Linked DNA regions of Homo sapiens: regions 1 and 2 are each linked to region 3. The links are contacts of gene promoters, found by promoter capture Hi-C in blood cells and fetal thymus (Javierre and others, 2016). All regions are on one chromosome and are shown on one strand. Each heading gives the region's core, a stretch centred on a gene start or on the middle of the fragment in contact. The rest is flanking DNA. Distances are from core to core; before and after follow the strand shown.

Region 1 (3,084 bases), core at 90-2,589, 160 kb after region 3:
ATTCAGGCTGGAGTGCAGAGGTCTGACCATAGTTCACTGCAACCTCAAACTGCTGGGCTCAAGTGATCCTCCTATCTCCGACTCCCAAAGCACTGGGATTACAGGTGTGAGCCACTGTGCCTGGTTTCATTCCTAATATTTAAAACAACAACCCTCTCTATTACCCTTTTCCTTCCCTCTTTATTACCCTTTTCCTTCCCTCTTTAATTTTTCTCCATAATGATGATCACAATCTACATATTTTACTTATTAATTTTATTATCCCCCAGTAGTATGTAAGCACCATTAGGGTGGGAGTTTTTATCTATTTTGTCCACTCCTAAGGAACTACCAGTAACTAGAACTGGACCAGGCAAAAGTAGGCTCTCAGTAAATATTCGTGGTTTTAAAAAAATTATTTATATTTGAGACAGGGTCTCACTTTGTCACCCAGATTGGAGTGCAGTGGCGCGATCACAGCTCACTGCAGCCTCAACATCCCAGGTTCAAGCACTCCTCCTGCCTCAGCCCCCCATGTAGCTGGGACATCAGGTGCATGCCACCACGCCCGACTAATTTTTTGTAGAGACAGGGTTTTGCCACGTTGTCCAGGCTTGTCTTGAACTCCTGAGCTCCAGCGATCTGCCTGCCTCTGTCTGCCATAAATATTTGTTGATTCTTTCCTGGATCATAGCCAGTGGCTTAGAGAGGCAACTTAAGCATAGCAATTAAGTTATGGATGCTAGAGCCTGATCCAAAGGCAGGCCTGTCTTGGTTCAAATCTTGACTCTACCACTAACTAGCAAGACACCTAAACTTTCTGTGCCTTCATTTTTTCATCAGCAAAGCAGAGACAATAATAGTATCTAGCTCATAGAGAGCCTATGGGGTCATTAATAAGTATAAAGCACTTAGAAAAATGCCTGTCACATAGTAAGTGCTATATAAGCATTCTTTGTAATTATATGCATATGAGATTTATATTAAATATCAGTAGTTTAGATTTTCTAAAATCTTTCAATGTGTTGTCTTGCACTTGCCCATGTGAAAATTCGTTTCCCATGTTTCTGCTCACTTACACAGGCTTGTATGATCCCCCTGTAATCTATCTCCAGGGACCTGGCTCTTCATCAGTAAACTTGGATGTTTCCTCGTGTTCTCCCTCCTGCAGTCATTTCAAAGCTGTTAAATAGTAATCTCGCTGGGCCCCAGTTTCCCAATCTGTACAATGAGTGGGTTGGACTAGGTCATCGTAAAGGGCCTTTCTAACTCTTTTAATCTCCCAGGTGGGAGGAGGGACAGGCCCCACCTCCAACTCCACCTCCTTGGATATGCCCTCTGGCTGCCAAGGGGAAGGGTGACAGAGTCAGCTGAGCTCAGCTTCAAGGGGACCAGGTAGGAGATGTGCCAACGTTCTTGGGCAAGGGTGGCAATGGGGCTCCTGGGCTGTAGGCAGGCAGTGGGGAAGGTGTCATAGGTAAATGTCATCTGGAGACACTGTGACCAGGGCACTAGGAGAGGCGAAGGCACTGTGGGGAGAGACACTCCTCTTCCAGGGATATAGCTGTGATGACGAGTCAGAAGACACTTTGGGTCTGGGTATCTTCCCACTTTGGATAGTGCTGGGAGGCCTCCACCCTCTTCAGCCAGCCAGGCTCTTAGGGACAGAGTGAGCTGCAGAGTGAGTACAACCCAAATACACGGGCTGCCTGCCTGAGCCCCAGCACTGCCTGCTGCCCACCACTTCCCAAGCTGGACCAAGGGAGCTTGGGTAGGGGCCAGGCTAGCCTGAGTGCACCCAGATGCGCTTCTGTCAGCTCTCCCTAGTGCTTCAACCACTGCTCTCCCTGCTCTACTTTTTTTGCTCCAGCTCAGGGATGGGGGTGGGCAGGGAAATCCTGCCACCCTCACTTCTCCCCTTCCCATCTCCAGGGGGGCCATGGCCAGTACAGAGTCCTCCCTGTTGAGATCCCTAGGCCTCAGCCCAGGTCCTGGCAGCAGTGAGGTGGAGCTGGACTGTTGGTTTGATGAGGATTTCAAGTTCATCCTGCTGCCTGTGAGCTATGCAGTTGTCTTTGTGCTGGGCTTGGGCCTTAACGCCCCAACCCTATGGCTCTTCATCTTCCGCCTCCGACCCTGGGATGCAACGGCCACCTACATGTTCCACCTGGCATTGTCAGACACCTTGTATGTGCTGTCGCTGCCCACCCTCATCTACTATTATGCAGCCCACAACCACTGGCCCTTTGGCACTGAGATCTGCAAGTTCGTCCGCTTTCTTTTCTATTGGAACCTCTACTGCAGTGTCCTTTTCCTCACCTGCATCAGCGTGCACCGCTACCTGGGCATCTGCCACCCACTTCGGGCACTACGCTGGGGCCGCCCTCGCCTCGCAGGCCTTCTCTGCCTGGCAGTTTGGTTGGTCGTAGCCGGCTGCCTCGTGCCCAACCTGTTCTTTGTCACAACCAGCAACAAAGGGACCACCGTCCTGTGCCATGACACCACTCGGCCTGAAGAGTTTGACCACTATGTGCACTTCAGCTCGGCGGTCATGGGGCTGCTCTTTGGCGTGCCCTGCCTGGTCACTCTTGTTTGCTATGGACTCATGGCTCGTCGCCTGTATCAGCCCTTGCCAGGCTCTGCACAGTCGTCTTCTCGCCTCCGCTCTCTCCGCACCATAGCTGTGGTGCTGACTGTCTTTGCTGTCTGCTTCGTGCCTTTCCACATCACCCGCACCATTTACTACCTGGCCAGGCTGTTGGAAGCTGACTGCCGAGTACTGAACATTGTCAACGTGGTCTATAAAGTGACTCGGCCCCTGGCCAGTGCCAACAGCTGCCTGGATCCTGTGCTCTACTTGCTCACTGGGGACAAATATCGACGTCAGCTCCGTCAGCTCTGTGGTGGTGGCAAGCCCCAGCCCCGCACGGCTGCCTCTTCCCTGGCACTAGTGTCCCTGCCTGAGGATAGCAGCTGCAGGTGGGCGGCCACCCCCCAGGACAGTAGCTGCTCTACTCCTAGGGCAGATAGATTGTAACACGGGAAGCCGGGAAGTGAGAGAAAAGGGGATGAGTGCAGGGCAGAGGTGAGGGAACCCAATAGTGA
Region 2 (2,914 bases), core at 150-2,649, 200 kb after region 3:
CACCCTTCCTGAATGACATATTTTTAAAAAAGTAATAGCTAAAAGAAAACCTGGGAATGTGGAGAACTGGTTGTTAGTAAGGACATGATCCTTTCCTTTTGTTTTTGTTTTCTTAATGTGACATCAAGAAATTGTAGTAATCGTAATCCTTGGCGAATGACATACTTTCATTGTTTTATGAATGTCCTTCTTTTCTATCTATGTATCCATGTATCTATGTATCTATGTATCTGTGTATCTATCTATCTATCTACCTACCTACCTACCTACCTTTATTGATCCAGGTTTTTCCAGTTGGAATTTCCCTCTCGAGCACTACACATGTAAAGTACTGTCTTGCCCCTGGATCACAAGTTAGCCGCTAGTTATCTGGCCTTGGTCTTCGCTTTCTTCTCTGAGAGCTGAAGGTATCTTCTTGATGCTACAGCTTTGGTAATAGAATTCTTCTTTCCCTTATCTTCAGTCCCTGGCCTGTAAGCATTCATCAGAGCAGATTCAAACTCTCAAGTGAGTTCTGTCATAATAGGATGTGGGCAGCAAATAGCTAAAATAGGTCACGGAGGATGAAGAGGTGTCAACATTCTCCTAAGCCAATGTTTGGTCATATGAGGATCTAGGTATCAAGACACAACTTGATGTTCTAAGATCTGGAAGGTCAGCAAGTAGGGAGGTCAAGGCAAAAATAAACCAAGAGGGAAGGCCACTCCAAAAAGCGGCAAAGCCAGTGGAAACCACCCAGGCCTAGTCCTAGGTCAAAGGTTAGTGGATATCAAAAGGGCAAGTGATCTTGGTCTCTCTGTCTGGATGATTAGAACAATCAGACAGGAGTCTTGCCATTGTCACACCTGCTTTGACATGCTGGGCCAAGCTGTCATGCAGTGTCACTGGCTAACCTCAGCTTATACCCAAGTTACCCTACCTGCCTCTGGCTTTCTGCCTTTTCATTTTAAACATGTTTTTGTGCAAAACAATTGGATGAATTCATGCTGTAGGGTGTGTGTGTGTGTGTGTGTGTGTGTGTGTGTGTGTGTGTGTATAACTAGCCAAGGTAGGGGCAGCAAAGATCGAGGATTTAATGCAGTGTGATAGCTGCAGGAGTGAAAACCATGGTGTGCAAAGAATCTCTCATATCACAGAATGTGGCTAGGCAAATGCTATCTGGCAAGCTGCTTCCGTTTCTCCAACATGACTGAACTGTGAGGGACTGAGAACCCATCAGTCTGAAGGGCAATGGTTTATTGGCTGCAAACTCTCCGGGGCCTAGGCACCCACCAGGGACTCTTTCTCATTCATTCTCAAGTCCAGGAATGGCTGCCTGTGCCCACTGGGTAACAGCCATTCATCTCATACATTATATCCTTCATAAGTAGTTAACCCCATTGGCCCCTCGATGTTTCTGGAAGATCTTAGTTTCCCACTCTTTTCACCTTTGGTGTCAGAGAGACTACAAGGGACATCAAGATCATAAAACTGGGCTGGGCGTGGTGGCTCGCACCTGTAATCTTAGCACTTTGGGAGGCCGAGGCAGGTGGATTACTTGAGGTCAGGAGTTCAAGACCAGCCTGGCCAACATGGTGAAACCCCATCTCTACTAAAAATACAAAAAATTAGCTGGACATGGTGGTGGGCGCCTGTAATTCCAGCTACTCGGGAGGCTGAGGCAGGAGAATCACTTGAACCCGGAGGCGGAGGTTGCAGTGAGCTGAGATCACGCCATTGCACTCCAGCCTGGGCAACAAGAGCGAAACGCCATCTGAAAAAAAAAAAAAGAATCATAAAATTTTTCATCTTATCTTCTGGGAGAAGTAGCTGGTGTGGCTTGATGTTTCCAAGGCTTCGTCTTTATCTTCTAAGAGATGGCATGCTTGCCAAAGTTACTGTAGCTGCTGGGGCTGCGGGCAGAGAGGGATACCCTTCACTGCAGGGTAGTGGGGAATTACATAAACTTTTATTGTCCTTAATATGTTCTCAAAACTAAACTAAACTTAGTGTATGGTTTATTCAACCTCTGGGAATGAGAAAAACATCTTTTATGCCCCAAAGCTGTGACCTGTTACATAGAGGAGGCAGGGAGACCTAGAAGGAGTCAAGACCTACAAGCTGAGCCAGAGGTTGCAAACTCAAATGTCTCTAGGGATCAGAGATATAGAGATGAGGGAACCAGGCTGAGAGTTGTAACAAGGAATGGTGGGGAGTATGTTGACCCAGAGAGGGCGTGTTCCTTCTAAAGGCCTTCAAATTTAGTTTCTCCAACTATTTTTAGAAAAAACTTCAAACATACAGGAAGGTTGAAAGAATAGTATAATAAACAACTGTATATCATCTACCTCTCAAATTCAACAATTAATATTGTGCATATTTATCTCTCTGTACATATATGCATATGTACATGTATACATGTATACATGTTTTATGTGGACAGCACGGTTATGGTTGTTTTTAAATTTGAAATGGTTCAGAAAAACAAGACACACATACATACATATATGCATCTGACTTAAGAAATAGATGCTACCAGTAGTTTCTAAGGCCCCTGTGTGCCTGTCCCTGTTCTCATTCCCCCGTGCCCTCCCCTACCATGAGTAACTGATGTGTTTGTCTATTATTCCCTTGATTTTATTTACAGTTCCATCACATATGTATGTCTCCTTAAACAATAAAACATTTAGGTTTGTCTGCTTTTGACATAGAAACATTACACACACACACACACACACACACACACACACACACACAGTATTCTTCTGTTACTTGATTGTTTTCACTCAACACTATGATTTTGATACTCATCTTTGTTGACATACGCAGCTCTGCTTTTTGTATTCCATTGTATGAATATGGATGTACCACAGTTCATTCATCCATGTTCTTATTGATGGACATTTATATTGGTTTTTGCTATTATGTACATTGC
Region 3 (3,090 bases), core at 462-2,961:
AGCGGGCCCAGACGGAGCAGCAGCCGGGGGACTCGGCCATGGTGAAGGCCTGGGGGAAGGGACACTCGACCATCAGGGACCCTGGCAGAGGGCAGATCCCAGTCTCCCTCCTAGTGTATCTGAGGAGCCCGGGGGAGAGGCAGAGGCCTGGGCCGCTGCTCAGCAACGGAGGTCACGGGGCAGGCCCAGAGTGCCAGAGTGGATGAGGCGAGCAGCCCCAGCTGCAAGCCTGGCAATGGGAGACAGTCTCCAGAGCCTTCGTTTCCCTTTAATCTTGTTACCTGGAGAGTCAGTGGGACACCCAAGAGGTCCAGCCTCTTTTCGGGCAGGATTCATATCCACTCTCTCCAGCTCCTCCCCATTTAACAGCACACACCTCTGGGGATGGAGTGCTTGCCCTGGGGGTAAGAACTCAAGAGAAACTGCCCAGGGTGGGACAAACTCAGTTCAGCAAGTTAAAGCAGGTTTGGCCAAGCTGGAGGCAACCCCATGTTGAATTGCTTTCCAGCCCAGGAAGCAGGAGTAACCTGAAGCAAAGGTTACAGTTCTGACCTGGGGCTAAGGAAGGCCCAGCTAGTTGGCCAGTTGCTATGGTTATAGAGATTATTCAGATCACAAATCCCTGAAAGATTCTCTGTGTCCACCTCTCAGGGGACAAAGGGCACTGCCAAAAAGAGAAAGACTTGAGGTGAACATGTTGCCTGGGTCACTCCCAGTCTTCTAAAGGAATCTTTGGATTTTCAAAATACAGAGCCTCCCCTCAAGTCCTGCCCTTTCCTGCCCAGTCATCCCCCAACCCCAACCAGAAGCCCAGACTCGCCTTTAGGAGCCCCACCCTCTAAGTTAGCTTTGGTGAAAGTACAACAAACGCAGGGCAAAGGTGTGTATGCGGGGTGTGGTTGTCTTGGGGCAGGGGACCCCTGTACCTTATGCTTCTGGGTTTGGCTGACTGAGCTGATCCCCAGACTTGGCTGGGTACGTGACTGATTCTACGCGAGACGGTATGTGATTTGTGTCAGCATTTGCACGCGACAGCACAACTGGCTGTCGGTACAATATGATTTTAGGTGACTTTGAGTATGTAAAGGAGCCCCTGGATACACCCAAAGTGTGTGAGCATGTGTGCGTGCGGGCTGAGGGACAGGACCTCTTGTCCTCAGAGCTCTCCCGAGGCTATGGAGTCTTAGAGGGGTGCACAGTGGGTGGGTCCGGTAAGCAGGAAGGTGTGGCTGCTTCTGAACTGCCCTCTTTATGCTGCCTTGGGAAAGGAGGGTTAGGGTAGGGGTGAGGAGCTGGAGCTGGGGGAAGGAAACCCCTCCCCTCTACGAGACCCTTCCCGGTAAAAAGCCAACCCAAAGGGAAGCCCTTGCCTCTGCCCATCTTGGAGCTGGTTTGATAGCCTGCTCTAAGCTCTTGCCTCCCCTGGGGTCCTACCCCTGCACCCCAGACACTGCCTTCCAGAGTCCCCTCCCTTCAGGAGCTGCCTGTAGGATGGGATCAGGGTCTGAGCAGCCTGAAAACCCCAAGTAGGGTTGCTGACAGGGGTGCCATTCAATCCCCCGGCCCAATCCCAGTGGGATGGAGCTGGTCTCTGCTCCACAGCTCCCACCTGTAGCCCCCCAGCCTTCCCGAACCCTCACACCTTTGCTCAGCGGCAGCTCCGCTCCGCTCTCCTCTCTGCACTGCTTCCCAGCTCCTCTCCGAGTGGTCTGCCTCCTCCCTTTTTCAGTCCTCGGTTCAGCCCTATGAGTCAAACAGGTGGCACTGTTGCCACCTACAGGAGGCTGTGTGGGTCCTCTCCCAAGGCCTGCAGCTGCTCTGTGGCCTGGGCACAGCCCGGGTGGGAAGATGGGAGGGAGGAAGCGGGAGGGAGAGCAAATCTGCTTCTTTACTCGCTGGCGGTCAGGGGGCTTGGGGTGAGGAATTCCTTTGTGCAGGCTTTCCCATCCCTCTGTCCCTCCTCCTGTTCCCCTCCCAGTCACTGCCGGGGCTTTGTCCTGGCTCAGGGAGGCGAGGGCTGAGGGCACAGGCTGGCGGGAAGCTGGTGTGTGTGGGGGGGGGAGGTGACCACACAACTTTGCAACTTGGCAGTGAGGAGAAGAGGCCCAGCCAGCCCACTGGAAAGGCGTGTGTGTGTGTGTGTGTGTGCGTGTGTGTAAGCCTAACATCAAGTCTCAAGCTCCCTGGAAATACAGCCTTGATTCATTAGGCTCCCTCCCCTATTGAGCTCCTACTTCTAATTCAGCAAGGTGCATGTATAAGAAGCTGCAGCCTGGCGCGGTGTCTTACACCTGTAACCCCAACACTTTGGGAGGCCGAGGCGGGTGGATCACCTGAGGTCAGGAGTTCAAGACCAGCCTGGCCAACATGGTGAAACCCTGTCTCTACAAAAAATACAAAAATTAGCCAGGCATGATGGTGTGCACCTACCAAAGACTAGGTAGTTGCATGGGACATCTCACAAGGCCAGGTTTAAAGCAAAGACAAGCCTTGGTCATTTGTCCCAGCTACTTGGGAGGCTGATGTGGGAGGATTGCTTGAGCCCAGGACGTCGAGGCTGCAGTGAGTTGAGATTGTGCTACTGTGCTCCAGCCTGGGCAACAGAAGCTGCAAGCTACTTCCTGAACTCTGGATAGCAAGTTGCCGTTTCTGGACCAGAGGTCCCCATGGGCCTTGTGGATCCTGGGTGACACTAGCAGTTCTCCCACCTTCCCTCATCACCCCAGACAGGAGATGCTCATTCAGGACTTGTGTCATTTCTGCTGCCTTGTCCCTAAGGCATATGAGTCTCTTTCCAAGAATCTTTTGAGGAGTGTAGAGTATATTGGGGTCACAGGCTTTTGGAAGATGAACACATAGAAAAGATGCTGTTACTATAGCATCAGCATCAGCAGGGAAGGGCTGGCTAGCACACTATAGTTTGCTTAGTGCTAAAGCACAGGGGTCTGGGTGGGATGGGGGCCAGGGGCTGGCTTGGTTGACCTCTCCCTCTACATTACGCCTGATGTGGTGACTCGAGGTCTGGGGGCTATTAGTGCAGTGTTGGTGGGAAAGGATGTTTTCTCTGGGGATAAGCCTGCTTACCCCTCC

The links. The method cuts DNA at HindIII sites, captures the fragments that hold promoters and counts their contacts. A CHiCAGO score of 5 or more calls a contact.
Region 1: a contact is called between the fragment with the promoter of P2RY4 here and the fragment with the promoter of GDPD2 in region 3, in 1 of 17 cell types (naive CD8 T cells). The highest score is 5.2, in naive CD8 T cells.
Region 2: a fragment that was not itself captured here is called in contact with the fragment with the promoter of GDPD2 in region 3 in 4 of 17 cell types (naive CD8 T cells, naive CD4 T cells, total CD8 T cells and 1 more); the score reaches 7.2 in naive CD8 T cells.

What each region holds. Positions count from the first base shown.
Region 1 is chrX:70,258,459-70,261,542 of GRCh38, reverse strand. P2RY4 (pyrimidinergic receptor P2Y4) reads left to right here and starts at 1,339. Exons shown (of 1, transcript NM_002565.4): 1 at 1,339-3,084. The coding sequence starts at 1,919. The coding sequence ends at 3,016. The HindIII fragment of the contact is 18,804 bases long and covers 1-3,084 here.
Region 2 is chrX:70,226,396-70,229,309 of GRCh38, reverse strand. No RefSeq gene overlaps it. Among named protein-coding and RNA genes, the nearest start is that of AWAT1, 6.8 kb to the left of the region's middle. The HindIII fragment of the contact is 4,506 bases long and covers 1-2,914 here.
Region 3 is chrX:70,421,935-70,425,024 of GRCh38, reverse strand. It overlaps GDPD2 (glycerophosphodiester phosphodiesterase domain containing 2), which reads right to left and starts at 1,711. Exons shown (of 16, transcript NM_017711.4): 1 at 1,643-1,711; 2 at 1-49. The coding sequence starts at 40. RefSeq lists enhancers at 768-1,756, 1,757-2,745. The HindIII fragment of the contact is 11,609 bases long and covers 1-3,090 here.